Linked DNA regions of Homo sapiens: regions 1, 3, 4, 5, 6 and 7 are each linked to region 2. The links are contacts of gene promoters, found by promoter capture Hi-C in blood cells and fetal thymus (Javierre and others, 2016). All regions are on one chromosome and are shown on one strand. Each heading gives the region's core, a stretch centred on a gene start or on the middle of the fragment in contact. The rest is flanking DNA. Distances are from core to core; before and after follow the strand shown. Region 1 overlaps PLCL1 (phospholipase C like 1 (inactive)). Region 2 holds the start of BOLL (boule RNA binding protein). Region 3 overlaps PLCL1 (phospholipase C like 1 (inactive)). Region 4 overlaps PLCL1 (phospholipase C like 1 (inactive)). Region 5 has its middle 120 kb from the start of LINC01923. Region 6 overlaps PLCL1 (phospholipase C like 1 (inactive)). Region 7 has its middle 98 kb from the start of LINC01923.

Evidence for each region. The method cuts DNA at HindIII sites, captures the fragments that hold promoters and counts their contacts. A CHiCAGO score of 5 or more calls a contact.
Region 1: a fragment that was not itself captured here is called in contact with the fragment with the promoter of BOLL in region 2 in 15 of 17 cell types (activated CD4 T cells, megakaryocytes, monocytes and 12 more); the score reaches 12.2 in activated CD4 T cells.
Region 3: a fragment that was not itself captured here is called in contact with the fragment with the promoter of BOLL in region 2 in 2 of 17 cell types (activated CD4 T cells and non-activated CD4 T cells); the score reaches 6.0 in activated CD4 T cells.
Region 4: a contact is called between a fragment that was not itself captured here and the fragment with the promoter of BOLL in region 2, in 5 of 17 cell types (activated CD4 T cells, non-activated CD4 T cells, neutrophils and 2 more). The highest score is 7.0, in activated CD4 T cells.
Region 5: a fragment that was not itself captured here is called in contact with the fragment with the promoter of BOLL in region 2 in 1 of 17 cell types (M0 macrophages); the score reaches 5.6 in M0 macrophages.
Region 6: a fragment that was not itself captured here is called in contact with the fragment with the promoter of BOLL in region 2 in 6 of 17 cell types (neutrophils, activated CD4 T cells, naive CD4 T cells and 3 more); the score reaches 8.8 in neutrophils.
Region 7: a contact is called between a fragment that was not itself captured here and the fragment with the promoter of BOLL in region 2, in 5 of 17 cell types (M1 macrophages, naive CD4 T cells, fetal thymus and 2 more). The highest score is 8.7, in M1 macrophages.

What each region holds. Positions count from the first base shown.
Region 1 is chr2:198,128,216-198,132,032 of GRCh38, forward strand. The region is part of intron 5 of PLCL1 (phospholipase C like 1 (inactive)); the gene reads left to right. Among named protein-coding and RNA genes, the nearest start is that of LINC01923, 240 kb to the right of the region's middle. The HindIII fragment of the contact is 3,910 bases long and covers 1-3,484 here.
Region 2 is chr2:197,783,601-197,787,704 of GRCh38, forward strand. BOLL (boule RNA binding protein) reads right to left here and starts at 1,719. Exons shown (of 11, transcript NM_033030.6): 1 at 1,456-1,719. RefSeq lists an enhancer at 2,895-3,124. The HindIII fragment of the contact is 5,410 bases long and covers 1-4,104 here.
Region 3 is chr2:198,109,073-198,113,027 of GRCh38, forward strand. All of the region lies in intron 5 of PLCL1 (phospholipase C like 1 (inactive)), which reads left to right. Among named protein-coding and RNA genes, the nearest start is that of LINC01923, 260 kb to the right of the region's middle. The HindIII fragment of the contact is 964 bases long and covers 1,285-2,248 here.
Region 4 is chr2:198,062,154-198,065,964 of GRCh38, forward strand. The region is part of intron 1 of PLCL1 (phospholipase C like 1 (inactive)); the gene reads left to right. Among named protein-coding and RNA genes, the nearest start is that of PLCL1, 260 kb to the left of the region's middle. The HindIII fragment of the contact is 2,555 bases long and covers 201-2,755 here.
Region 5 is chr2:198,256,910-198,261,167 of GRCh38, forward strand. No RefSeq gene overlaps it. Among named protein-coding and RNA genes, the nearest start is that of LINC01923, 120 kb to the right of the region's middle. The HindIII fragment of the contact is 1,740 bases long and covers 1,163-2,902 here.
Region 6 is chr2:198,148,310-198,152,258 of GRCh38, forward strand. It overlaps PLCL1 (phospholipase C like 1 (inactive)), which reads left to right. Exons shown (of 6, transcript NM_006226.4): 6 at 1-1,554. Among named protein-coding and RNA genes, the nearest start is that of LINC01923, 220 kb to the right of the region's middle. The HindIII fragment of the contact is 3,070 bases long and covers 1-2,992 here.
Region 7 is chr2:198,274,795-198,279,099 of GRCh38, forward strand. No RefSeq gene overlaps it. Among named protein-coding and RNA genes, the nearest start is that of LINC01923, 98 kb to the right of the region's middle. The HindIII fragment of the contact is 5,349 bases long and covers 1-4,305 here.

The sequences.
Region 1 (3,817 bases), core at 280-2,779, 340 kb after region 2:
CCAAAAAGCTAGTTCAGGCCATGATGGGAACCTGATGGTGTAACCACCCAGTTGGGTTCACCTTTCATGCTACCTAGAAAGAGCTGATTCATCTAGACAGGGGAATCGCAATAGAGAAAGAATAATTCGCACAGAGCCAGCTGTGCGGGAATCTGGAGTTTTATTATTGCTCCAATCTGTCTCCCCAGGATCAGAGTTTTTAAAGACAATTTGTGGGAGGGGAGGGGCAGTGAGTCAGGGACTGCTGATTGGCTGGGTCGGAGATGAAATTATGGAGAGGAAATCATGGGGCGTTACTGTCTTCTTGCGCTTAGTCCGTTCCTGGGTGGGCATCACAGGATCAGATGGGCCAATTTCTTGATATGGTGGTGCCAGTTGATCCGTCAAGTGCAGGGTCTGCAAAACTTCTCAAGTACTGATCTTAGGAGCAGTTTAGGGAGGGTCAGAATCTTGTAGCCTCCAGCTGCATGACTCCTAAACCATAATTTCTAATCTTGTGGCTACTGTTAGTAGTCAAGAAGGAGGTTTATTTTAGGAAAGGGATGTTATTGTTCTTGTTTTAAACCATAAACTATAAGTTCTTCCCAAAGTTAGTTCAGCCTATGCCCAGCTTGGAGGTTAGAGGCAAGATGGAGTCATTTAAGTTGGATCTCTTTCACTGTCTCAGTCATAATTTTGCAAAGGCAGTTTCAATGGTAAAAGGGAATTGGATACGCTGCATTATACTTTCCTCCCTTTGGAATTCAGGCTGAACTGATCGGCCTTAAAATTAAAACAGAGATCTTAAGACACAGTAGGCTCTTTGTAGCAATAAGATACCAAATTCCAACCTGACTCCAGTATAGCATCACATGACAGATAGCAGGCCCTGAGAAAAATCAAGTATTTTACCCCAAAATATATTTCTTTGACATATTTTTAAATGGCCCTGCAAAGCTATCTCTTGTGGGGGAAATTTACCTCCTTTAGAGAAGCCCCTTCCCTTTCCAGGTCTTTTTCTGATCCTGAAGAGTTTAGCTGAGAGTCTGGTACCTTTTAAAGGTATGAATAGGAAGCATTTGCCATCTATTGCCTCTAAGGATGGCCACCTATAAGACTTCATCTACATAATAAGACCGTTGGTCTCCAACAACACCCCTTATCTTTGCCCAGACACTCCTTTCTATTGATTCCAGGTTTTTTAGATAATAACTTAAACCCTTCAACCAATTGCCAATCAGAAAAATCTTTGAATCCACCTATGACCTGTAAGTCTCCTGCTTCGAGTTGTTCTGCCTTTCCCTACCAAACCATGATTGATGTCTTATGTCCTCCTAAAATTTAAAATATCAAACTGTAACCCAACCTCCTTGGCCACATGTTCTCAGGACCTCCTGAGGCTGTGTCACAGGTCATGGTCCTCACATTTGGCTCAGAATAAATCTCTTCAAATATTTTACAGAATTTGGCTTGCTTTTTTCATCAACAATATGTATACAAACGGGCTTTTCTAAAGGACTTTCAGCCCTCCTTCAGCTCATCTCCTTCCTCTTTCTATCTCCTCGCCTACATAGTCAAACTTCTTAACAGGGTTGTTTATACTTGCCGAATCCACTTCCTTACCTCCCACTCACTTCTTAGCCAACTTTAATCTTTCTTCTTCCCCGACACTCCATTAAATCATTCTCACCAAGGTCACCAATAACCACCTTGTCACAAAATCTCATGGACACTTTTCCAGTTTTTATCTTTTTTGACTAGTTGGGAACATTCTACGTGGCTAAGCACTCCCTACTTTTTATTTTTTTTAATTTTTTTGAGACAGGGTCTTGCTCTGTCACCCAGGCTGGACTGTGGTGGCATGATCATGGCTCACTGCAGCCTCAACCTGCTGGGCTCAAGCAATCCTCCTGCTTCAGCCTCCCAAGTAGCTGGGACTACATGCACATGCCACCACACCCTGCTAATTTTATGTTTTGTAGAGATAGAATATTGTGATATTTCCCAGGCTGACTCCCCACTTCTTGCAACACTGCTTCTCTTGATTTCTGGGACACCACCCCCTTCTCTCTTCTTCCTACATCTCTGACTCTTTCTTCCCAGAATCGTTTGCAGGTTCCCTTTCCTCTGCTATTCTGTTAAATGCTGGTATTTCTTAGGGTTCTAGCTTAGGCTATCTTCTCACTCCACCTTCTGTCCCTGGGGGACACAGTTCATGCAAAGGGTTTTGATTATCTTCACCATGCTGTCAAATCTCAAGTGTGTATTTTTGGCCCAGGTGTCACTCTCTTTATCTCTTGATGATCCCTGCTCATCCTCCCATATAGTTTATATATCAAATTACCTCCCAGGCATTGTACCTGGGAGGTCACTCAGCCACAGCAAGGTCGGCATGTCTCCAGCTGTGCTTATCCCTATCCATATGTCCTGCTTATCCTCAGTGACACCTCTGGAATTCCTGCTTGAATGAATAAATGACAACTCAGAGTTATCCAAACCTAAATCCTGGGGGTTATCCTTGATCCTTTTCTTAACTCTCCACCTCTAATTGGTTAGCAAGCACCGTTGGGTCAACCTCCTTAATACCTCCCTAGGAAACTTCCATTCCCATAGCCGTCACCTTAGTTATCTTCATTTATCACCTGAGTTAGTGAAAAGTCATTTCTCCTCTATCCTTTTCCCACTCCATAGCATAGAGCTGGAGTGATCTTTTTGAATGTAAAGCTGGTCATGGCCATTCTCCCTTCCTAAAGCCCTTCCAGGGCTTCCCACAGCTCCTTCTTAACTTCTCTTCTGAAACTCATTGTGGCCTGTCTTCTCAGCTCCCCTCCTTCCCCTCCAGCTTCGTCTCTCATTGCCTTCTTCTTCCATGCACTACTCCAGCCACATGGAACTTTCTCCACTTCCTCAGTGGCACCAGGGATGCTTTCATGCTGAGTAGTCACATGGACTGTCCCTTCTTCCTTGAAAGTGTGTAACCCTGCTTGTACCCCTGCTCCCTGGGAGCCCCCATCCTGTTGTTTTCACACTGCATGGGGCACTGTTATCTGTACTTCAGGTGTTTGCTCAGGTACGGAGTCTTCAGGATGCCTTCATGGACACCTCACCTTCTCCTGCCTCCCATCTTCAACAGAGTTAGGTATCCCTGTACGTATTCCCACAGAACTCTGCTATTCCACTATCATAGCACTTTAATTGCTTTTTTATCTTTCACGAGACAGTCTCTATTATTGTAAGCAATTAGGTGATGAATTTTAACATAGCAATTTTAACCTGAGCCCCAATTAATAAACAGTAGACATTTAGCATATGAGGTCAAATCAAAGAACGTCTCGTCAAATCCCCATGTTTTGGAGAAAAGGAAACTGCTGCCCACAGGAGTTAGGGACATTTCCAAAGTCACAAAGTCAATTCATAACTTATTAATCATTCTTCCCACTGCAGACATCAGCCATAACCCCTATTCTTTCTATCCTTTTGACTGATTCTGGTTTTCTCTGCAAGAAGCTTGAAAGCCTTAGCCAGGACATGGTTTAAACTCTATTTTGCCTTGGTTATCAAGCAATCAAATGGTGTGGTTAAAATTGTAGCAAGCCTGTCATTTCTCATTTAAAATAAAACGGGACTCATTCAGGCTTCTTGAAGTGAGACTGCATGTGACGATGCAGGGAACACATCTCCTAGAAAGAAGAGGAGCCACTGAATGGGCAGCCTCATGGAATCTCAGGCTAGAAGATCCTTCACATTTGAAGCAGGCTTTAGAGGACTGTGTTATCTTTTCCTTTTCCATTTCCCCTTTCCTTGCCTTAAGAGCAAGAATTGTAGATTTTCACTCTAG
Region 2 (4,104 bases), core at 469-2,968:
AAAAGCCACCACATTTAATAATTACTATGTTGTAGTTTCCAATGAAAGAAACTGGGAATCTAATCTTAACAGCTTTCTCTCTGGGCACTTGGAGGTTATTTGTGACTTCAGTCACTTCGCTCAGTAGGATATAATGCTCAGAATGGGTAATTCTGGAATGCTTAGTATTTTTCAACTATGGATTTTGTATTGCTAGAGATAATATAACAGCTCTAGTAGATGTAATCTTGTCTTTCTGCCCATTTGTTTACAGTGTCAAAATTACCTATTTGCTAAATTTAAAAAATCATTCTTCATGAAATTCTCTTATTGAAAATAAGATGTACTAATATGTTCGCAAGTTTAAGTAAAAGACAAACCCCATTATATTTCATTGAGAGAAGGATGAAATGAACGGAAGTAAACAGTGCTTTATTTCCAATCTCGAGAAACTAAAGGATACTCCCTGAGAAAAGAAAAACAACCTTTCACACTCAATTCACTTCATTCTCCTCCACTCTCTAAGGCTCTATTGTGGGCTCGCTCTGCTTAAGTTTTCTCCCTCATCATTTTCTAACATACGATATAGTTTACTTAGTATGTTTATTATCTGTCTCCACTATTATGTAATGCACCAGGGCAGAAGTTTTGCTTTTTTCATGGCAGCATCTAAAGTACTGACAGTACACAGCAGGTGCTCAATAAATATCTGTTGAATGACTAAAAGTGAATCATTTCTTCAGGAGAGACCTGCTCATGATATGCCAAATAGGCTGAAGGCTAAAGAATACAGTATAACAGCAGTCTAATACATATATATATATATATATATATATATATATATATATATATATATATATATATATATATTTGAGACAGTCTTGCTCTGTCGCCAGGCTGGAGTGCAGTGGCGTGATTTCGGCTCACTGCAACCTCCGCCTCCCTGGTTCAAGAGATTCTCCTGCCTCAGCCTCCTGAGTAGCTGAGACTACAGGTGCGCACCACCACGCCCAGCTAATTTTTTTGTATTAGTAGAGATGGGTTTTCACCATTTTGGCCAGGATGGTCTCGATCTCCTGACCTCGTGATCCGCCCACCTTGGCCTCCCAAAGTGCTGGGATTACAGGCGGGAGCCATCGCGCCAGGCCTACAAAATATTTTAATGTTAGCAATAGCAAGGCTCAGGTGGAGGCAACATCTAAGTTCATTATAAACAATTAGCGATGCATTGAGTTAAACAACAAAGAAAGCCTGAAATTCCACTAGCAATAATTCCGCATGTGTTACGGAAACACCTAGATGGGGACTGTTGCCGGGTTTGAAGGCTCCTCCGTTTGCTAAAACTTCCAGCACTAGAGAGTTTATTAAACTACTCCTCCAAAGCAATGTGCCCTCACTGGCCCCTCCCCTTGAGAATCAACCTCGAGATCTAGCATCTATTTTGCAAACGAAGACAGCAGGAACGGGCGGGCTAACCGTCGCAGTCACTGCCTCGGCGCTCCTCCCCCTCCAAGGCCAGCAAGTTGCGGCACTGGGGGAAATGGCCGCGGCGACAACTTCCTCGAGTTCTCTCGGGTCATCGTGAACTTGGGCACCGAAACGAGGATCCACCCCCTCCCCACCAAAGTGCGGGAGGGAAAAGAAGGCTAGCCAGCGAGAAATTTTGCCCCACAAATCCGCCAGCAGCAGTGGCGGGAAGCCTCAACGGCAGCGACCCCGCCGCTGGCCTCGTGCGCAGCTGGTCCCCACCCTCGCGCGGCGCTCCCTGATTGGCTGCTGGCGGCGGGACGGGGCGGGGCGGGATGGCACGTTGCCGCTGCGCCTCGGGCCTGTGCGGGCAGTCCTCCTTCACTTCCCCAAGTCCACCCTGACTGGCTTGGGTGCACAGCCAGGGCTAGAGTGTCCGGGTCCCGCCTGGGCCACAGGCGGGCCCTGCCAGGTCTCTCAGACCTTCCGGTCCTCGCTGACCAGTCGGGGAGTGGAGGCGTCGACCGCCCTGGCAACTCCTCGCCTTGGGCGGCTGGGTCGAGTTCGGCCGCAGGGAGCGTCAAAGACGCTGCCTAGCCCAATTTCGGCGGGAAAGCGGTTTACCTGCTCGGACTTCGCTGGGTGCCTGGCAGCCCGCCGCCTCCCGAAACATCCACGCCTGAGGTCCCCTGGCCCGTCTACACCCAGTCCAGGCCCCGTGGCGGCGCCTTTCTGACCCCCATGACACAGCCAGACGAGGTCTGCGGGCGGGTGGCTCCTGGCAGCGGTCGATGGGGCACCTGGCCACGTTTCTTCCCAACCAGATAGCGAGCGTTTGGGGCCTTCACCTCGCCCCTCCAAGCCCTCAGGGACAGGCTCCACGCTGCTCCTTCTCCCCGCTATCCCGCGCCCTGGGGCCCTGATCGCCGTACTCACCGGCCCGGACTCGGTTTCCATCTTCCTCTCTGCTCTTCAGAGACGCGGGGTAGGGAAAAGAAGCCTAAAGTTTGAAACCACCTTCACGCCAAGGCAGCAGCGCTGCTTGTCCTGCCTGGGACTCTCGCCCCCTGGCGGCGAGGGTGGCTGTGGCAGCTGCAGGGAAGCAGGCTCGGACCCCGGCCCTGAACCTGCCACCTGGCGGGTGGGGAGAAGCGGACTGCGTCGCCTCGGGTGGCAGGTGGCGGTGCGGGCGGGCGCTGCAAGCCGGAGAGGGGCGCGGGAGGGCGAGTTTCGGCTGTGGCCCTGGGACTCCGAGCCGGGGCGTCTCAGGGGCAGAGCGCACGGCACAGCGGGGCGGGCGTGGGGCGTGCGGAGCGAGGGCTCGGTTCTGGGACCCCTCTCGCCTTCTCTCAGACGGCTGGGGAGGAGAGAGCGAGCGGTCAGGCAAAGCTCCATGCACGCCTTCCCCTCTCCTCCACTTGAGAAGAGTCGGCCTCTGGGACTGGTGGGTTTCGAGAGGTTGAGGTGACCTTAAGGCTTTACTGAGGTAGAAGAAGCCGGTTGACGGGCGACTTCCGAAGACTGGTGTAAAGCGAAGAAGGTTCTAGAGTCAAACTCTGACTCTCGGGGCCTGACTCGCAAAACTCGGGGGCTCCCGAGAAGCCGCGGACGCCGCTCTGCACCTGTTGCCGCCGTCACTCATCCCGCCAGGCGGGCGGGGCCGCGCGGGTGGCTTGGTCAGGACCTGCCATTCAGCCCAGTCGGGCTCCGGTGCTCGCCCCGGACGGCGCCCCAAGCGGGTCCCGGCCCCGCTGAGCACCTCCAGCAGTGGCACAGCCTCTGGAGGGGTCCGGGACGAAGCCACCCGCGCGGTAGGGGGCGACTTAGCGGTTTCAGCCTCCAACAGCCTTGGGATCGCCTTTGGAAGAAGATTGCGCTTTTTTTCTTAAATTAATGAATTAATTTACTAATTATTTTTATTTTTGAGACGGAGTCTCGCACTGTCGCCCGGGCTGGAGTGCAGTGGCGCGATCTCGGCTCACTGCAACCTCCGCCTTCCGGATTCAAGCGATTCTCCTTGTCTCAGCCTCCCGAGTAGCTGGGATTACAGGCGCCCGCTACCACGGCTAATTTTTGTATTTTTAGTAGAGACGGGGTTTCACCATGTTGGCCAGGCTTGAACTTCTGACTTCAAGTGAGCTGCCTGTCTTGGCCGCTCAAATTGTTGGGATTACAGGCTTGAGCCACCGTGCCCGTCCAGTTGACTAATTATTTAGACACGAAGGCTCACTCTGTCGCCCAGGCTGGAGTGCAGTGGTGCGATCACGCTCACTGAATTCTCGACCTCCTGGGCTCAAGCGATCCTCCCACCTCAGCCTTCTGAGTAGCTGGGACCACAGGCAGGCCCACGCCACCATGCCTGGCTGAAAGAAGACTGCTTTGTAAATAATACGTATTTCTAGTAGGTAGCTAAAATGATTACAACTGGATAAACTTATAGTAATGATTATCATTATTATAGCTGCCATTTATCAAGTACTCACTTTGTTTCAGGCACAATGCTTTATGATCAGTATCATTTAATCTTTTCATGCTCACAGCAACCTTTCAGATAGATGCTCCAATTATCGTCATAGTACGTGATGAAGCAGAGATTTGAAGGATAAGTAATTTGGTCAAGATCTAAAGCTGTAGGAGGTTTAACCCTCGTCTCCCCCC
Region 3 (3,955 bases), core at 517-3,016, 330 kb after region 2:
TGTGCTGATATAATAAAATACCTGAGACTGGGTAATTTATAAACAACAGAAATTTATTTCTCACAGTTCTTGGGGCTGAGAAATCCAAGATCAAGGCAGGAGTGGATTTAGTGTCTGGTGAGAGCACAGTCTCTTCTTCCAAGATGGTGACTTCTTGCTTCGTCTTTCAGAGGGGAGGAACGGTGTCTCCTCAAATGGCTGAAGGGAAAGAAAGGCAAAAGAAGGTAAAAGGGCCTAGCTAGTTCCCTCCAGCCCTTTTACAGGGCACTAATCACCTCCTAAAGGCCTTACCTCTTGATATTATTGCATTGGGGATTAAGTTCCAACATGAATTTTGGAAGGGACACAAACATTCAAACTATAGACATTTGGTTGTTAACATAATATTAAAATCTCAAAATGGAAATTTTTCCTGTTTTTTAAGGCTTTCAGAAAGGGATACTACAACTTCACTTACGTAGCCAACATATTCTAGTACATTGTTAGTAATTTTGGAAGTGTTTCACTCATGAGAGTTCTGAAGATCTCTTGGGAGCAAGATGTGGAATTACACTATATCACTGATAAAATGCTATTTGCAATGAAGTGGAATTCATCTAAAGTCTTGAACTCTATCCAGAGTGATTTGACTTTTTAAGTACAAAAAGAACTGCATTGTAAAGGTGATCACATCTATAAAACTGAAATTAGAAAGAACCCAAGGGGAGCATTTTAGTGAGCTTTCCCAATATATATTTTTCTAACTTGTCCTGTTGGCTATTTTAAGAAACTAAATTTTATTACTTTGTGTTTTTAAAAGTTTTATGTAAAAATCAATTTTAGCAGGCTGGAGAAGTATCAAGTAGAGATATATAAAAATAATATTAAAGAAATATAATTAATAAATATTTTATTACAAAGGAAAAACTATGAAGTAGGTAATCACTAGAGCTTAAAGAGAAATAAAAGGGTTAAGAAGTAGCTGCCCTTCTTATTTATTCATGACTTTCATTGATTACTTGTTGAATAACAGGCAATAAATAAAAAATGAATATAACTATTACCTCTTCAATGGTCATTCCTATTAAATATGTATTTACACTTTTCCTGGATAGATTTCCAACTTATAATTTAATGCATTCCAATGTGTGCCATGATTCTGGGCTGCTTTTATAAATTTATGTTTAGTATATGTGACTATTACTTTTCCCCATAACGCTTTTGCTTTTTATCACTACTTAAGCCTTTGCTCCTTCTGCTTTTATCTAAAACATTTTCAATTTCCGTGGGAAGAGCAGAGATTGAAGCTTCTCACTTCTCCGTGTGTAGTTATGTTTCTAACCCAGGCAGATTCCCTCACTGAATTCCCGAATTTCAGGACCTTACAGTTCTGGGGAATCTTGCTACAACAGAGGAAATTACATGGATGTCAGTGTAGAAATACGCTTTCAATTAGAGCCTGAAAACACATTTGAAGTCTCTGTTCATTGTTGAGAGACAAAAGAAAGGAAACAGATGATGGGCTAATGGGAAAAGAAGTATGAGGAGAGGCATCCATCTCTGAAAGCTGAGTGAGAGTGAGAAGTGGGCTACCCTTCACTTACTGGCCATAGATATTTAAAATCATTCTATGAGATACTGTGGAGAGGGGGCTGTTAGTGTGAATGTTCAAACCAGGCTCTTCCAACAGACATAGTGACCATGCCTTTGGGGGCTGCCTGAGGGTATATAAAGAAGGAACATGCCCAGTATCATCCACATTGTCTATTGAGAACTTTTCCAGTGGTGTCTCTGGCATCTGCCAGCTGTTGTTGCTGTAGAATCTAGAGAAAGGCTAGGATTCCTTTTGAGTATTCAGAAAAAAAAGTATATTTACAAAGTGTAGAAACAGACCTCCAAACAACAACAATAATGCATTAATAATAAACCATCCTTAATATTGATATTATTATACTATCAATTATTGAGAAACAGCAGGCAAAGTGATTAAGTGTACAGACGCTGCAGCCAGACACTTCCTAGCTCTGTGTCTTTGGGAAAATTTTGTTTTGTCTCTATGCTCTTGTATCAGTTGGGGTATGCTGGGTTGTGCTATAGTAACAAAAATCTGAAAATCTACTACAATATAACACAATGGCTTATTTCTTGCTTGTACTACATGTCCATCACAGGTAAGTAATGGTCACTCAGGAACACAGGCTAATGGGGACTCCATCCCAGCAAATACTTCTACAATCCCAGAGGTAGGGATGCAAAAATGGTCTTTAAAAGCTTCTGCCCAGTAGAGTCACATGTCCCTTCCACTCACATTTGACTGGTCAAAGCAAGCCACAGTCAAGTCTGATTTCATGGAGTAGGACAAATGTAAACCTTCTCAGGGAAGAGGAGCAGATATTGGTAAATACAATCTACCAGTGACAAGTTCTTCAACTACCCCTTATAATGTGGACTAAATGAGTAAATATATATAAAGCAGTATCTGGCACATGCTATATGAGTGTTTGTTATTTTTATTATTAAAAATGAACATTCAGTGCTTACAATAATCAAGTGATTTTTACACAACATTTTAATTACTTTTAAGGATAACCCTGTAAATTTACTCTTATTATACCCATTTTACAGATAGGGGAAATGAGGCTCAGGAGGTTAAGAACCTTCCCATTGGCATACAGGAAGTGAGTGATGGAGCAAGGATTTAACTCTAAAGGCCATGTTGTCATCCCACTATGCTATATTGTCAAAATACTGACAGCACCATAATAGTAATGGTTTGTATTAACTGAGCACTTTCTATGTATCAAGTATCCTACCAAGTGTTTTATATTTATTATTTTACTTATCTAAGGGAGTGAGTGTCCTGCCCATCTAGCATGAATATTTCAATCACCTTGACAGAATATGCCTACTGTCAGTAGTCAGTGGTTAGTGCAGAAAGCTACAGCGAGAGAGTGTATCTTGAGAATAATTTATTTACAACACTATATTTACAAAACAACTCTCTTTTCTCAATCTGGTTTCCCAGGTACACTTTTCTAGTGGAAAATAGAATGAATTGACCAAGTGGTATAACTAGTTCCATCTGCCCAGTAGTCACATTTCTCTTTGTAAGTAAATCAGTTAACTTCCTTTTTTATTTGTCCATCTCCTATGAGCTTGGTTAGCATGAATCAGCTTCCCAGGGCCTGATCACCCCTGAGCGAATGGATACAGTTGAGTCCTTGGACAGGTACGATTGGGAATCACGGAAGCAAAGCAAAACAACAACAACAATACCAAAGCAGAAGACCAGACCCAGGACCCCTGAGAGCCCAGCCAGCCTCCTCTTGTTTCTCTTGGACAGCTTTGCTATTCATTGGCTTTTAGTCTGGACATTGCTAGCTGCCATTTCTTGATGGGACAGAGGAAGTTCAAGAGCCATGCCTCTAGCAAAAACTTTACAAAGGCTATACTCCTTTCATATTCCTTCCTCATGCCCCCTCCTCCACAGCCACAGTTCTACTGTTCAGACCTACAATCTGTCCTTTATCAACTGAGGAGTTACAGCAGAATCTATTCTGTGTCTCCTCTAGGCAACATTTACTTCTTCAATTTTCATTTTGTTGTAAAGTTTATTTCAATTTTTTTGTCTATTAAACGTTTAAAAATAATGTTGGAATTTTGGCAAACAGTTACGGTTAACAGTCATGCCAGAAACATTTGGTGAACGCAACTGGGAGGGGCAAAATAGGGATGAAGCCAAAATTGAGGGTCTTATTCCAGTGGCAGCCAGTTTAGTCTCGCTCAACCTAGTAAGCCCTCAACTCACTTGGAATCTTAGCCAGCTGCTTTACAATGGATATCATTGATTACCAGGAAGAAGGTGGGTGGCAGAAGGGAGAGAATGGATGGATCACTTCTAGAAAAACAGCTTGAATCTCATATGTCAGTACCATTATTTTTATACACAAAAGAAAATATTATTAAGCCTTATAAA
Region 4 (3,811 bases), core at 228-2,727, 280 kb after region 2:
CCCAGACTGCTCCAAATCTGCCCTTCAAATTATTTGTCTCATTTACACGTTATTTTTTTGAAATGGCAAAGATTATCCTTTCTGATAAATTTTGTGCATTAAAAGACAAGTTTTATCTATTCTAGGGGAGCTCCAAATTTATACAAGACAATTGTGATAAATTTTTTCTTAAAGGAAGAAATCCTTTATTATGCAAATAAAGCTTCTTTATTAACTTCTGTATATTTGAATGGAGGTTGGACTTTTCTCAGTTACCTACAATTTATACGTAACTCAATTATATATACTTCTCTAGAACTGCTTATGTAAAATAATATTTCTTAACACATTTAAAGTGGTGACTCCCTATTATATTGCAATACCCTTCCTCTTTTTTTCTGAACTAACAATGGAATTAAAATTCAAGTGCTGAAAAAACACGGTTTCAGTATCCTTATATTCTTAACATGGAGCCATCATATAATTAAATGCAATGTCTAGTTTTTTTCATAAGTGTATGAAGTTGAATATTCTGATTTGGTGCAGTGTTTTCAAATTTTCCTGACCATAAGAATCACTTGGGGGTGAGCCTAGGGTATCATTTGTTAAAAAAAATAAATTCCTGGCCTCCCCCCTTTAACCTACTGAATCAGATGTGTAGAACCTGGGAATATACTAAGTCAATGAGCTATCTCAGGTGATTCTTATAATCAGGTAAGTTTGGGACCAATGATGTAATGCAGTAAAACTTAAGGGTGTATCAGAATCACCCTTGTCTTATTAAAACCCAAAATTTCTGAACCCCACCCCCAGATCCAGTGGGTGTAGAGTCTGAAAGTCTGCAATTTTTAACAAGGTCCTTGGTGATGCTGTTGCTGGCAGTCCAAAGATCACACTGTGGGGACCACTGATGTAGTGGAAAGAATGTAGTCTTGAGATGAGACACATCTGGGTTCCAGTCTCATTTAATAGCTGGAAATTTTTTAGTATAGTTACTTAATACTATACTAAGTACTTAATACTATACTTTACTGAGTTTTTTCCTCTTTATTTTCAATTTTTTAAAATATCCTTAAATAAATTTATACACTCATACATATATATTATGCTTGGGTTTAAATGCTACCTTGAATAAATATGGAGCACAGATGGAAACCGAGAAGAAGGAGGCAGAAATGAGAGCAAGGAGGAGGCTGATAAGTAGGTTCAAGGGAGAGTGAGTGGTCTGCACAGTAATAACTGTGTCCTAGAATAACCAGAACCCAGCAAAACAACATAATCAGAAGCAAACTCAAAGTGAATGTATTAAAAGTCAAGCTAACTGTTTACTTTGCAAGGAGAAGAGAAAGGTCACTTGGCTGTACAAGTATGATAGCATTGATTAATTTGAATGCTTTGTCTGAATCATTACTGTTGAGATTCTGAAAGTTCAGATACTGAAAAGAGGAAAATAATGTTGACATGGAGAAACCAATCATGTGAGAGCTGTTTTTCATGTCAGTGAGGATAAAATGATTGCTACCTGCTCTTTTTACACACATGACTAATGACATATTTGTAAACTTAGTTTTCTAAGAAAGAAACATAGCCATCATATTTAGGGTTCATACCATTATTTAAATTTGTATACTGTGTTCCATCAGCTTTTCATGGGAAGTATTTTTATCCTCTCTGATGATTTGAAATAGAAAAGCCAATTTGGGTGTAAAATCCAATGTTCAGGCAGAAGCCTTATGTGGAGATAGTGTTCCCACAGAATTGAACTCCTGGAGTACTGGTTAAGAGCAAGTACTCCAGGAGTCAGATATCTGGGTTCCAATCTTGCTTTCACCTCTTAGGGCCCGTTCTGTTGCCATAGGAATGTTCAATAAGCTAGTAATCATTATAGTACATAGCTATGGGATTTCTACAAACTTTTATTCAACAAGTATTTATTGACTGCTTGAGAGGTGCCAGGCATGGTGGCAGGTACTGGGGATATCCACTCTCAGGGAGCTCTGGGAGACAGGCAAGAAACCTGTGAATAAGAAAGTTCATATAATAATAGTAGGTGTTAAGGATGGAGCAATTAACAAAACTAAAACATAAGTCCCTAGTCCTCCAAGTTCCATTATAGTGCCTTATATCCTAGTTTGTTTACCTTCCATAAGCTCATCAAAAGTCAAATGTGACTTAGATTTACTGACTAGGTTACTATTTTATTCATCAGATTGAGCTCCTTAATTCGGGAATTTAACAGAGGTTAGTTTGCAACTTAAAAAAATCTTCATTTCTATCCTGTCTTAGGCATTAATAGATTTTGTCCATATTACCAGTGCAAATAACAGTGAACTTTATGTTTTTATTCTCTATTTGATATGCTTGTAATTTAAGGCTTAGCCACAATTAAAATGTTCACTTTATAATCTATTAGAAATTCTATATAATTTAATAATTTTCATTTTGTTGAGGTCAAATTTAACTACAAAATCTAGGAAGCTATTGATTCCCACTAACCGCACCATTGTTATAGTCTTAGTATGTTTGAAAATTTAAGTAAAATTTGTTTCCAGGGCCAAAAGGAGAGTACTATTTTAGTTTTGTGGAACTTTGCCAAAATTGTATTAATTATTAACTGTGATTCATTTATGACTGTACTTCTTCTATAGGATTTTAACTAATTTAAAGCAAAGACTGAATGAAAGTCTTTATGTTTTGCAGACAAGAGAGCACCCATTTATCCTCAGCAAATGAATTGTTGGAGCAAATAATTTCAGTGGACCGTTTGGTATAGGGAAGCTTATGGAGACAGAAGCTTGTGGAGACAGAAAATTCAAGGGATTAGGATTTTTGAAATACAGAATAAGACTGAGGGGCAGCTAAGATTTATGTAGTCTTCAAGAACATAGACTATGCAAATACACAAACCTACATTCTGTAGACTGCATTGTAGGGAATAATGGACACACTCAACATCCTCTAAGATTAGGATAGAGAGAAAAGCTCCACTCTATTTGAAGGAAGGGAAATTTTTAGCAAATCAGAATAATATTAATCTAAGTTTTTCATTTTCTTTGGTGGTAGTCCTTTCTGGATTGGTTTAGTTGCCACCTTGCCAGAATACTTTAGGAAACTTCTTTAAAAAAACTTCTTTAGTCCAAGGGGTACTCTCAATCCAGGATGAGTAAGGCTTTCAACTTTCCAGACCAAATAAATAAGTCAGAAAGCTTTTCAAGTCTAAATAACTTAATTCTTCTTACAGAATTCTCTCCACCAATTGCTTGATAAATGTCAATTCAATGAAATGACATGCACATTCAGAATCATGGTAAATTTTTGTTTTCCATATCCTTCAGAATCATTTTTTAAACTTTCCCAAATCTTTGGCTTATCAATGATGCATTATTCTGTCACCCTATTAATGTATGTTTCCTTTGTCATTCATAAAACGGTTGTATTGTTTGGCCTTATGGAAGGATGTTGATTAAGTGCCTGTGAATGTTTGCTTTATTGGCATTGAGAAAGAAGAGAAAATGATTTGTTTTGCCAACAATGAATTATTGCATCTGTTTGTGGCTGTTAAATAATTTAATAGAACTTAAAGGGCCTATTTTCCCTTGATTAAACTACAGGAAAATATCAGTCTCTGCCTCACCTTGGATACAAAGTTAGATGTAAAACATGTTTTTAATTTGCCTTTTGCCAGTTTAGGTGTTGATAAGACACTGAGGGATTTTTATATTATGCCATTTTTACATTTAAGTTGAATATCTCTTTAAGCTTGAGACAAGGAAAAAGTGTTATGAACAATTTTATTTCTAAATAGCTTGTTCACTTTTATTATATAATATTA
Region 5 (4,258 bases), core at 783-3,282, 470 kb after region 2:
CAGTACAGGAAAAAGTTTCTTTACTGCGAGGAAAATTATGTGCAATTTGAGGAAATAAATGGCAGCTGACACGACCCTTGGGTAGGGATCACCAACCTTTAGGCAGGGACACTGGATTGCACACTGCCTTCTGCTGGCCCACTTCCTCTCTGCCAAGTCTGTCTTAAGAGGTTTATTTTCTCATTCTTAGCACTTAATTCTATATGTTAGAGTACTTTGAGTTTCACATAAAGAAAATGTAATTAAACTGGCTTTAATAATGAAGGAGTTACATGGTTTACATAACTAGAGGTTGCACGGCAGAGGTTTGATCCAGGCTGTCTCCGTGTCTATGTTTCTTTTGGCTCTGTCCTTCATGTGTTGACTACATTCTTGTACTGACTTCTCCCAGGTAGTCAAATGGCTGTAGCAGCCTCGGGTGTCCCAGTGATACACCATATTGTCCAGAACAAGAGAGGGGTTCCCTTTTACCCTAGTCACCAAATAGAAATCCTGCACATTACACTGATGGAAATGGTCACTGTGGCCAGGCAGATGAGAATATAGTTATGAAACTTTGTGTCCATCCCTGGAGCTGAATTTTGGGCTAGTTCCTCTAAACCATGGCTCCTACTTAATTGGGAACAAATGAAAAGGATTCTGAGAAGTTCTAGGTTTCAAAGTTCTCCCAAGTCAAAATCTCAGAAAGAAGAAAAACAGTCACTCAGGATCCATATATTCGATATCACAGTGTGACCCCCTACTTCGGGGTTTGATCTTGTTTGATCCTTGGATCAATTGCAGTATGGAATATCATAATTGGGAAGCCAAGGACTGGATCATTTGCTCACTCTTGTGGCCAGATGTCAGGAAAGATCCTATAATTATAATTGACACTTACTCCCATATCACATGGATCAGGAAAGAACATTTTTCCTGGTGGAAAGAGGGAGCCTAATGGATAAGAACAGTAGATGCTCATACTACCTTATATTTGAATTCTGCTCTGCAACAAGGAGCTATTATCTCCCAGCAATAATACCACATCCTCAGGTATTAATTTTTAAGAACAGAATCATAATAACACACTAGTGTATTATTAAAATACTGTGAGAACAATACATAGAACTTATGTCTAAACATATCTAACAACAAATATTGTTTGGATATATTATACATTATAAGCTTGCTGAGTATATTCCATGAATCATTTTATGGTATACATGTTCCCTAACATGTGTCCAGATTTTAGTTCTTAGCACAATGTCCCACACCACCCTTTTCTTCCCCTACAACATAAAAAATCATTAGAGAATCAAGAGACAGAAGCTGGCCTCATTTCATTCCTGTAAGAATTTCTCTTTGCTTAGTAGAAAGGGTGAGCATCATGCAGGCTCTAGCCATTGGTTCACATTGACCAACCTCCAGAGATCCTTACTGAGTGGGTTTAGGGTGGAGACCAGGCTTTTGAAAAGCTCCCCCAGGTAATCCTGATAATTAGTATTTTTGCAAACCATTAAAAATGGATGCATTATTTTCTCCTCACAAGATATTTATAGCCCAGTTCACAGGTGACAGTGCTGGTCTCTTCAGCCTGGGAAGTTAGTGAGTCTTCTATGGAAGACATTTAGAAAATTCCTTTTTGATGGGGTCTTGAGCTTCCTAACGTCACCAGGTGACCGTTTCTGTTTCTGATGGAAATGGGTTTTACTAGCGGATAATGGAGATGGACTATTCTCTGCCTGGGTTTATTCACATCTGTGTCCCCTTCCAAGACAAGATCTATGTGAAGAAGGAACATTTGTGACTTTGGCTAAGTTCCTACCTATGCCTCCTTCTTGGTTTAGGAACCATGCTCATCTTCTTCCTGTGTTTCTAAAAAGAAGGCTGCTCTCCCCTGTGTTCCTGATAGAGTAGTGGGATGTTATAATGGGGCCACAGTTTCTGTCCCTTGGAAATCAATAAAGGGGTCAGAGCTACTCCCATCTCCTTACCTGGAACACTGCCCAGGTAGGTTTGTGTCCACACAGGCTTGGCTACAAGCCATGGGCAATTCCTCTGTCCTCTGCCCAACAGGAGTGATCAGGCCAATTCTAAAGCTCAGGATTCCATAGGGCAGCGGTCTTGGCACCAGGGATAGTTTTCATGGAAGACATTTTTTCTATGGACTTGTGGGAGGAGGGGGTGGTGGAGATGGTTTCAGGATGATTCAAGAGCATTACGTTTATCATTAGATTCTCATAAGGAGTGCCAACCTAGATCCCTCGCATGCACAGTTCACAATAGGATGCGTATTTCTATGAGAATCTAATGCCTCTGCTGATCTGACAGGAGGCAGAGCTCAGGCAGTAATGCTCACTTGTGTGCCACTCACATCATGCTGTGCAGTCTGGTTCCTAAGAGGCCATGAACTGGTTGGGGACCCCTGCAATGGTTGAATGGATTCTGCCTTCCAGGAAAGGGCAGGGCTGAGGGAGAATGAGTAGGATTTAGATCAGCACTATCCAACAGAAATACAATGCAAGCCACAAATGTGAGCCACATAGGTAATTTTACATCTTCTAATAACCACATTAAAAAAGTAAACAAATACAACTTGACATTGAATTTGATAGAGATTAAGAGGAAAGTGCAGTGTTTTTTTTGACTGATCTCTTTTTTGATGACCTACAATTTTTGCTTCACTTTGATCAAGTAAAGGAAAAATAATCAAGAAAGGTCTGGTCTGATGAAGAAAGGAGGCAAATCTTTGTTTGGTAAATGCTGAGACAGAGCCGCATACCCATCACACGGAGCGCAGAGAGGGAAATAGACTGTCCATTGTTCCTATTGCTTATACTGAAGGGCACTGTGGGATGATTCACTAGTGAATTGGAAGTACAAGGAAAAGAAGTGAGTTATTAATATATAGATCTGAAAGTTAAGCTTCATAAAGCTTTGTCTTATAGATATGTCTAAAGTGTGAGAGATTAAATAGCAGTTGGAAGGTTATGTGTTTGTATTATCAGGGAATGGTCAGATAAAAAATACTTGTCAGCTCAAAGTGACATTGAAGATTTTTTTAAGGATTTAAATCTACACACACATAGAGCAGCAGCCTCCTTGCACAGTTACAATTAGAAATCACAAGCTTTGTGATATTATCCTTGTCACAGTTTTTTTGGAGATAAAATGAATGTCTAGGTTTGTGTAAATTAGGGTTCTCAACAAAGACTTGCATGAATTGAATAGCTAACCTCAACTAAAATTGAAATATTGAGCATGATAGTGATTCACACATGTACAAATTAAAATACACTTAGTTTAGTAATGATGGCTACATTTCCAAGTGTAATTGAAAATGAACATGAACAATGTACCTTTACCCACGTGAACAAAGGGTTGGCAAAACATGTTAGGTATTTCCTAAATCAAACTAAAATTTCCAAAAGCTATCTGCCTTGTTCAGGGAGAATATGCAAATGCATCATGTTCAAGATTTATTGTAAAAGGTACTATGAGATGAAAGGAAATTGAATGCTGAGCCTTCACATGATAAATTTTTTTTGCATCTCTTTTAGTTGTCTTATAGGCTTATGTAGATTGGGAAATGTAGAAGAATAATAAACCTATAATAAATGATAATTTAAAAAGAAAAACATTTCCCTGAGTTATAAAGAGAAGAGAATAATAATAATAAAGTTAAAGAAATGGTACATTACGAATTTGAATTTTTCCCAATGGCCAATAACTAGAGTGCTAGCTACTGTGAATGGCATTTTACTTTTTTTAAAAAATTAAATAATTAAATTAAATTCATTTTTGCAAAGATGGAGTCTATCTCTGTTGCCAAGCCTGGTCTCAAGCTCCTGGACTCAAGGGATCCTCCTGCCTCAGCCTCCCAAGGTATTGGGATTACAGGCATGAGCCACTGCATATGGCCAACATTTTTCTTTAAATAAACACCTATGTGGTATGAAACATCATCCTTTTTTAATAGCTGCGATTGAACTGTTTGGTTCATAACAGATGCAGACACTCTGAGGTGCCCCCTCCATTTTCTGCCAACCCCTAGATTTGCTATAGCTGAGGTATTTGTGATCAGAAGGTGGATGCTCCTCTCTTATTCTATCCCAAGCTCTGGTACAGATGGTATGTCTGTAGCATATAGTACTAGCTTTTATTCATGGGAAATATTTCATTTTTCATTCTCACTCAAAATATTTACTGAGCACCTATATGGGTCAGGAGCCATTCTAGGTACTAAAGGATACAAAGATGAATAAGATGAAATCCTATA
Region 6 (3,949 bases), core at 208-2,707, 360 kb after region 2:
ATAAACATCTCCTATAGCTTCTGTGTTATTTCTGACTTCTTAACACTATTATGTTTATGTTGCACATTACTGAAAGAGTAAAGATATGAAAAAAACACTTATTGTTTTCTTTTATTGTGAATTGAAAAAGCAAAGCTAATGAAAATGGGTTACTACATCAAAAATATCTTAAAGAGTTTGCTATTTCCATGGACCAGATATGATGAAATTATTCCCTGGGTTTAAAACTGGGCACTCGAGGAGGAGGTACCTGAAGTCATTTGAAGGCAAGTTTCCAATGATGCTACAATGGCCTGAAAAAATTTCTTTACCCTCTGTTATATTTAACTTGCTGGTAGGAGGAATAGTGGAATGCAGGTGTTAAGCCCTTTGTGGTGAAAAAGAGGTTCTATAGACAGAAACAAAACCCACCTTACATCAGCTGATTGGTTGATTTTACTAGTGTACCTCTTCATCTACTTGAATTCTATTTGGTAAATCCATGTCTTTACTGGATATACAGTTAGGTGGGAAGAGGAGATAAAGGATGACAAACTCTCAAACAATATTTATACATTTATTTACTCCAGGGTCAAATCCAATCCTTGGAAGTAGCTTCTCTAGTTTATTTTATTTGTCCCAGAGCTCTACTCACACTTAGGACCCACCCAAAAATTCTCAAAAACGTAATATGGATTCTGCCTCATCTGATGCTATTTCTGGCAGTGGGTTGTCAGCCATACTCTGCTTCATTCCACTGGGTGTCCTTGCTAGATGGGGAGTGAGATGTGGAGCAGGGAGGAGCTTTGGATTCTGGGAGTGGAGGTGGCAAGGGAAAAGTCTCCTAGTCTCCTGTGATGTTCCTGCCTCCAGATAGAATAGCAAAAACAAACAATTTTTTTTTGTGTATTATGCCTCCATGACATTGTTACATTCTATGAGGAGCATCTGTCTCCTTTCTAGACTTGAACTGTGGTAGAAAAAGCCCCCTTCTCTCTTCTATCTACTTAGATTTGGTGATGCTAGGAATGTAGTGTTTTAGATATTAATTCTATTTTTATTTATTCATTTTTACATCACCAATAGGATCTGAGGTGGAGATGGCGGGTATTATCACTGGCATTTTACAGGTGAGAAAGCCCAAAGCCACTGAGGTAATTAATGGAATAATTGATTTTGAACTTGGGTCTGTCTGATTTCATGTGCAAGATTATATACTTAGTGATTTTGATTTTAAGTTTATTCTTAACATTTTAAACCAGACTATTAACTCTTACCTTTATAACCACAGATACAAAGAACTGTATCATTTATTTTCTGAATATAAAATATTAATGGTCAATATAAAAATACAAAAATAGAGAACTATATACAACAGAAAAGCAAAATTACCCACTAATAACATTTTGATTTATATCCCTTTAGACACTGTTTAGAGTTTATACATATATGTAAATATGCTTGTATTTTAACAAAATTGAGATATTATATAAACTGTTTGTAGCAGGGTGTTTAAAATTTTAACAATATGTTATGGATATCTTTCTGTGTCAATAAATGTGTATTTACATTAGAGTTCCAAGCATTTGAACTGAATCTAGTCCAAAAATGATGTGTTTTATTTGGCCATTGAACATTTTTTAAAAAAATCTTTAAGCAATAGACAGCTTTTGAAATTCAGAAAATGTTACGTACAATTCAATGTCCTGCATGTTTTAAAATACTGGATAATCTAACAACACAGAACACCTCCCACTCCCCACCTCACAACCACCACACATATACTTTCTTGCTTGGCATCAGTTAATTGAAACTGCCCTCTCCAAAAGGGGCATATGCTGTCCAATTTTCTAGAGAGCCTTTTCATTCATTTATGTTACATCTGGACCTTAAGGACATGATAGGTGGTGAAACTTGATGAAAATTATCATTTATTGAGAGGCCAAAATGAGAGAATTGCTTGAGGCTGGGAATTGAGACTAGCCTGGGAAACATAGTAAGACCTTGTCTTTAAAAAATAAAAAAAAATTAATGGTCATTTATAATAATTATACAGTATCTTATTATATGGCTTACCAGAATATATTTAACCAATCTCCTATTGCTAGATTTTACTCACCTAATTTCTTGTTATATAAACATTCCAATAATAAAATCCATTTTTGCAAAGTTGTTCAACTTTTTCTTTGGGATACATTTCTAGAAGTGGAATTGTTGGGTCAAAGGATACAGAGATTTTTTGTTTTGTTTCATTTTTGTTTTTTAGGGATTTTGAGATACATTGCCAAATAGTCTCAGGAAAACTTGTTCAATTTAAAACCCCACCAGGAGTTTATGAGAGTGCTTAAATCTTTGCTAATGATAAATTTAATTTTTCTTATTTTCATCTTTGCCAATCTTCTAAGTTACAAAAATCTTATTTCTCTTTATCTTTAATCTCTAATGAGATTGGATGCATATTAATATGTTCATTGACTCTAAATAATCTAATTAAAAGTAAAAACTTTTGTACTCCAAAGGATACTACCAAGAAAGTGAAAATAGAACCCACAGAACAGGTTTGCAGGTCATATATCTGATAGAGACTGGCAACCAAAATTTATAAAGAACTATTACAACTTAATAAAAAGAAAACCAAATTTTTAAAAACTGGTCAAAGGATTGGAATAGACTTTTCTTCCAAGAAAATATGCAAACAGGAAATAAGCACATAGAAACGTGCTGAAGATCGTTAACCACTAAGATCACATAAATCATAGCCACAATTAGATATGACTTCACACCAAATAGGTTGGCTATAATAAAAAAGACAGATAATAACAAGTGTTAGTGAGGATGTGGAGAAATTGGAACCATCCTACCCTGCTGGTGGAAATGTAAAATATTTCAGCTGCTTTGGAAAACAGCTTGGCACTTCCTCAAAAGGTTAAAAAAACATGGAGTTACCATATGACCCAGCAATTCTACTCTTAGATTTCTACCCAAGAGAAATGAAAATATATGTCCACACAAAAGCTTGTACACAAATGTTTGTGGCAGCATTTTTTATAATAGTCAAAAGTAGAAACAATCCAAATGTCTATCAACTCATGAAAGGATAAATAAAAATTACATATTCATACATTGGATTGTTCAACAATAAAAGAAATGAAGTACTGATACATGCTACAAGAGTATACCTTGAAAGCATTATTCTAAGTGAAGGAAATCAGGCACAAAGGCCACATGTTGTACCGTTCCATTTTTATAAAATATCCAGAATAGGCAAATCAGTAGAGATAGAAAGTAGACTAATGGTTGCCAGTGGCTGTGGGGGTCTGGGAGTGACTGCTAATGGGTATGAGTTTTCTTATTGGTGTGATGAAAATGTTCTGGAATTAGAAATAATGATGATGTTTGTTTACATAATTTGTGAATGTACTAAAAGCTATTTAATTGTATATTTTAAAGAGTGAATTTTATGGTATGTAAATTATCTCAGTAAAAGGGTTATAAAAGGAGAAATAAAAAGAATTTAAACAATGAACAGGGTATTAGAGAATAGTGAAATAGCTTCAAGAATCTAATATGTATGAAACTGGAGAGAAGAGCAGGAAAGAAAAATAATTTGAAGAAATAATGGCTAAAAATTTCTCATTTGTAATGAAAACTATAACCTCCAGATCCAAGTGTCTCAAAAATTCCAAGGACAAGAAACATGAGAAAAACAAGTTAGTCTGTTTTCTGCTGCTGTAATAGAATGCCACAGATTGTGTAATTTACAAAGAAAAGAAGTTTATTTGGTTTACAGTTCTGGAGGCTGAGAAGTCCAAGAGCATGGCTTTGGCATCTGGTGAGTGTAATTCCATGCCAGAAGGGCAAAAGGTGGAAGGTCAAGAGAGCCCATATGAAGGAGGTTTTGCTATTATAACAAAGCCACCTCCTCTACAACTACCCCACTCCGATGACAACACCTTTCATGAGGGTGGAG
Region 7 (4,305 bases), core at 888-3,387, 490 kb after region 2:
GATTCATAAAATCCTCCTAACATTGATCTATTCATGGCTATTTTTATTTTTTTACAGTGTAGTAATCATCTATAAATCCACTTCATGAAACACAACCTGGAAACCTGCAATGATCTTCATCTGAACCCCAGGTTCCAGGATCCACTCCATCTTGTCATCACCCTGCATCTCTGACATGAGATGACCATCACCTAAAATTCCTTGTTCATCAATTCCTTTTTCTGATTTTACATAGTTTTATTGCATTTATTTAGAATCTTAAAAGTTTATTTTTGAGCATAATAAGGTATGTAATTGCTTGGGATTTACTTTTTAAATATATTTCCAAGATTGATCCACATTTCTGTGTTACTACAGTTCATCCATCTTCTGTATAATATTCCACTGCATAAATATGCCATAGTGTATTCATCTTCTCTTCTGTTGATGGATACTTGGTTTACTTCCAGGTTTTGGCTCCTGTAAACAATACTTCTATGAACATTCCGGTAGACTTATTCTACTAGAAAGTTTTTCTGGATCTTTTTTATAATCTTTCAGTCTCTAGTGTCTCTTATACTAAATTCACTTGTCCCTATCCTTGTCTCATATTCCCTTGCCACTACTGTTAGATAACTATATTCTCCTTTCCAGACTCTTCTAAGAGTGGTACATAACTGCCTCTACTGTCTCTACTTCCTCAGTTTGTATTCACTCTTCAACTCGTTATCTTCTTCCAAACTACCTTTGCTGAGATTATCAATTATTTCCATATTGCCAAATCCAATGAACGTTTTTCAGCAGTCTTATTAGAGCTGCTAACCATATTTGATGCAGTTGAGCATTCCTTTTGTCTTAGTCCATTGTGTGTTGCTGTAACAGAGTACCACAAACTGGGTAATTTATAAAGAAAATAGATTTATTTCTCATAGTTTTGAAGGCTGGGAAGTTTAATATCAAGGTGCTGGCATCTGATGAGGGCCTTCTTGCTGTCTCATCCCATGGTGGGAAGGTGGAAGGACAAGAGAGCACTGGCATGAGAGAGGGTGGAGAAGAGAGCTGAACTCCTCATTTAATTAGGAAAACACTCCCATGATAACTAACCCACTTCCACAATAATGGTATTAATCCATTCATGAGGGCAGAACCCTCATGATCTAATCACCTCTTAAAGGTCTTACCTTGCAACTCTGTTGCACTGGGGATTTAATTTCCAAACTATGTTTGGGCAATTTGAGCTCTTTCTTCTTCACTTACCACCTAATGATAAATAATGGAATTTATCAGAGGTCAGTTCTAGGTCTCTTTCTCTTTTCCCTTAATACTCTCCCATAGTTATGCCTGTTGTCTCAGCAAAATTCTTAATAGCATATCCTTTTTCTCTCAGAAGTGTCCTAGTTTTGATGGTAAATTATATATGCTCCTTACTTAGAGACCAGTGGTTTCCAGCTCATCCATGACTTATTTATCAAATCTTCTACCAATTATCTTTCCTTAGCTATTTTACAGGCACCTCAAACTCAATATTTCTAAAACTGAACTTTTGCTGTTTCTTTTAACACCCATTTCTCCCAGGTCTCCATCTCAGAAAAGGGTACCTCCACCACTTACTTGCTCAAGTGCTGAACCTTGGAGACTGTTTTTATGTGTGTGTATGTGTTTGATTTTTGCTTGCTTGTTTGCTTTTTAATTTTCTGTTTCCTAGCCCATGTGTCTCCAAAACCTGTCAATTCTAACTCCATCACTGGCACTAACTCCATTGTTCCCTTTTGCCTGGGAGCTGCAAAGGGCTCTTATCTAACTTCCTGGGCTCCACTCTTCCCCAGCTTTCTCACTTCCATCTCTTCTCCTACCCTGATATTTAAAAAATATGAATCAGATCATGTCACTACCTGCTTAAAATCTTTTGATTGTTTGCCATTGCAGTAAGAATATAATCACACTGCTTTTCCAGCCTCTGAGGCTCTCTGTGCTCCTCCCATGACTGCTGGTGTAGTCTCAGCTGGGGTCATCAGCTCTTTTTCACCCCACTCGAACTGCTCCATTCTTTCCTTGCAACTAGCTCTTCCCTGTCCTAGGGCCTTGGCACATGGAAACCTCTCCCAGACATTCCCACTTTTAACTCAGATAACACTTTTTATTCTTCACATCTCAGCTTGAATATCATTTCTGCTGGAATGTGGCATCATTGGGGGAGGGGGTGAGATTTAAAAATACTTTTATTTTGAAGGAATGCATTTTATTTCCTAAATTAGATAATGTAGGTAAGCAAAAAAAAAAATCATCCACAATCCCACCACTCAAAGAAAACAAAGTTATCACTTTGGTGTCTATTTTTCCCAGTGTTTTCTTTGTCTGCATCACATAAATATCAATTGCTTAAATGACTCCAAGTCCTATAACTGGTGGGAGTCATTCTGTTCTGGGAATTTTACATGTAATTCACCCCAGGACCTCCTTTACATTGGAAAACTTTTTATTCCTCACCATATCCCCAGGGATTCTTGGAAATTGGGCAAACAGTTTTCCTGGTCACATCTTGCTTCAATTTACTGCTTCTACCGCTGTCTTGATCTCCCTTGTGTCTAGTATCTTGTGCAGATGCAGACATGGAACACAGCTCCTAGTACTTGATCCTGAGATTCCCTTTGCCAGGAGTAGAGTCGGGGGCTGGAAAATGTTACAGAAGAACACAGCATGGCTGCAACACATCTCCATTTTCAAAATTCCTTTAGCTACTTCATCCTGAGGATGTCTTGCTATACAAGAGTGAAAGCCACCTGCTGCATCACTGGGCTGGGCAGTCTCTGTCTGTCTCTGTCTCTCTGTCTCTCTGTCTCTCTGTCTCTCTGTCTCTGTCTCTCTCTCTCTCTCTCTCTCTCTCTCTCTCTCTCTCTCTCTCTCTCTCTCTCTCTCTCTCTCTCTCTCTCTCTCTCAGCTAACGATTCTCTTCACTCAGCCCTCCTCCTGCTCCAGATCCTGTGACTGTCCTTGTCGGGAACAATTCAATGTTTGGTCTATTTTGATGGTTCTTTCCAGACCATTTTCTGGAGCGTCTCGGTTGCTACACCCAAGCCTGCTTAGGCATCTTTCCTAAACAACGGGTATTTCAGGCTAGAGAGAAACCATGCCATTCCTCTGGTGGGCAGAAATAGTTCTGACTGGCTGTTGTTTTAAATAGTTTTTACCTTCTCTTCTTGGCATATAAGAAATGCTTTTCTTCTCTTCCTAAATGGTATCCTACAATATATACTATTAGAAATCTGCTTTCTTTACTTAACAATTGATGGTGAACATCTTCTATGTCAAAACATGTACAAATTTTAGATAGTAAAGTACAGCATTTCATAGACTGTGGTGGACAATATATCCTGAAGCGTTGTTAGAAATGCACATTCTCAGGCCCTGTGCCAGGCCTAATCCATGTAATTGCTACATGTTGGTCCCCAGAACGTTCACACACACTTAAAAGTTTGAGGCACAGTGGAATACAGCATTTGCATGGCCTTAATAAGAACCAAATGCAATTATTATTACTTTCATTGGAAAACCTGTAAAGGACAATTCTGGACATTTATATGGCCATTTAATTTGTGCTTTGAAGCAACTAGCTTTTCTTGTTCAATGTGACATTGATGCCAAAATGCAAAATGCTCCTTGGGTGAACAAATGGGTGTGAAAAAATATATATGTAAAGTGCTTTCCTAAAATATGATGTCTTCAATAGCTCTCCTATACTTTGGCTAAAGTAAACCACAAAGTCTATGATTTTCACATTATATTTTTATAGAAAGTAAAAATATCAGTTTAGTAGTTTTAAAAATATACAATCATCTCTTATCTTTTCAAATATTTAGTCTAAAATTCTAAATCAGATGGTTTTAAAAGCAATTTACATATATATATTTAAGACTAAAATAACTTTTGCTTTTGACTCATTAAGAACATAATTACTTAGTATGAGCTCTTTGAAGAGGAACTGCTGTTACTCATAGAAAGGTGAAATATACTTAATGAGCTAGGCCTAGTTGAAAACTATGATATGGTTTATTTTGGAATTCCAAGTAAATACAGGAAAAATAAAATCCCACTTCTGGTCTCATATTGCAGAAGATTATAATGAAGTGAGCTGCTTTTTCCTTGAGAACAAATCAGAAATTAACTTCCCAATAATGTTACTTCTAACTTGTTTTGTTTTAGAGCTCTTAGAAACTATTAATTTCACTAGCGAGCTATATGCTGTGCAGGCATAGCCGTGTGAAAATACCAGTTTTTAAAACCCCTCGACTGAAAAGTCATTTAGCACATTTTTCTGCTCACAGTTGA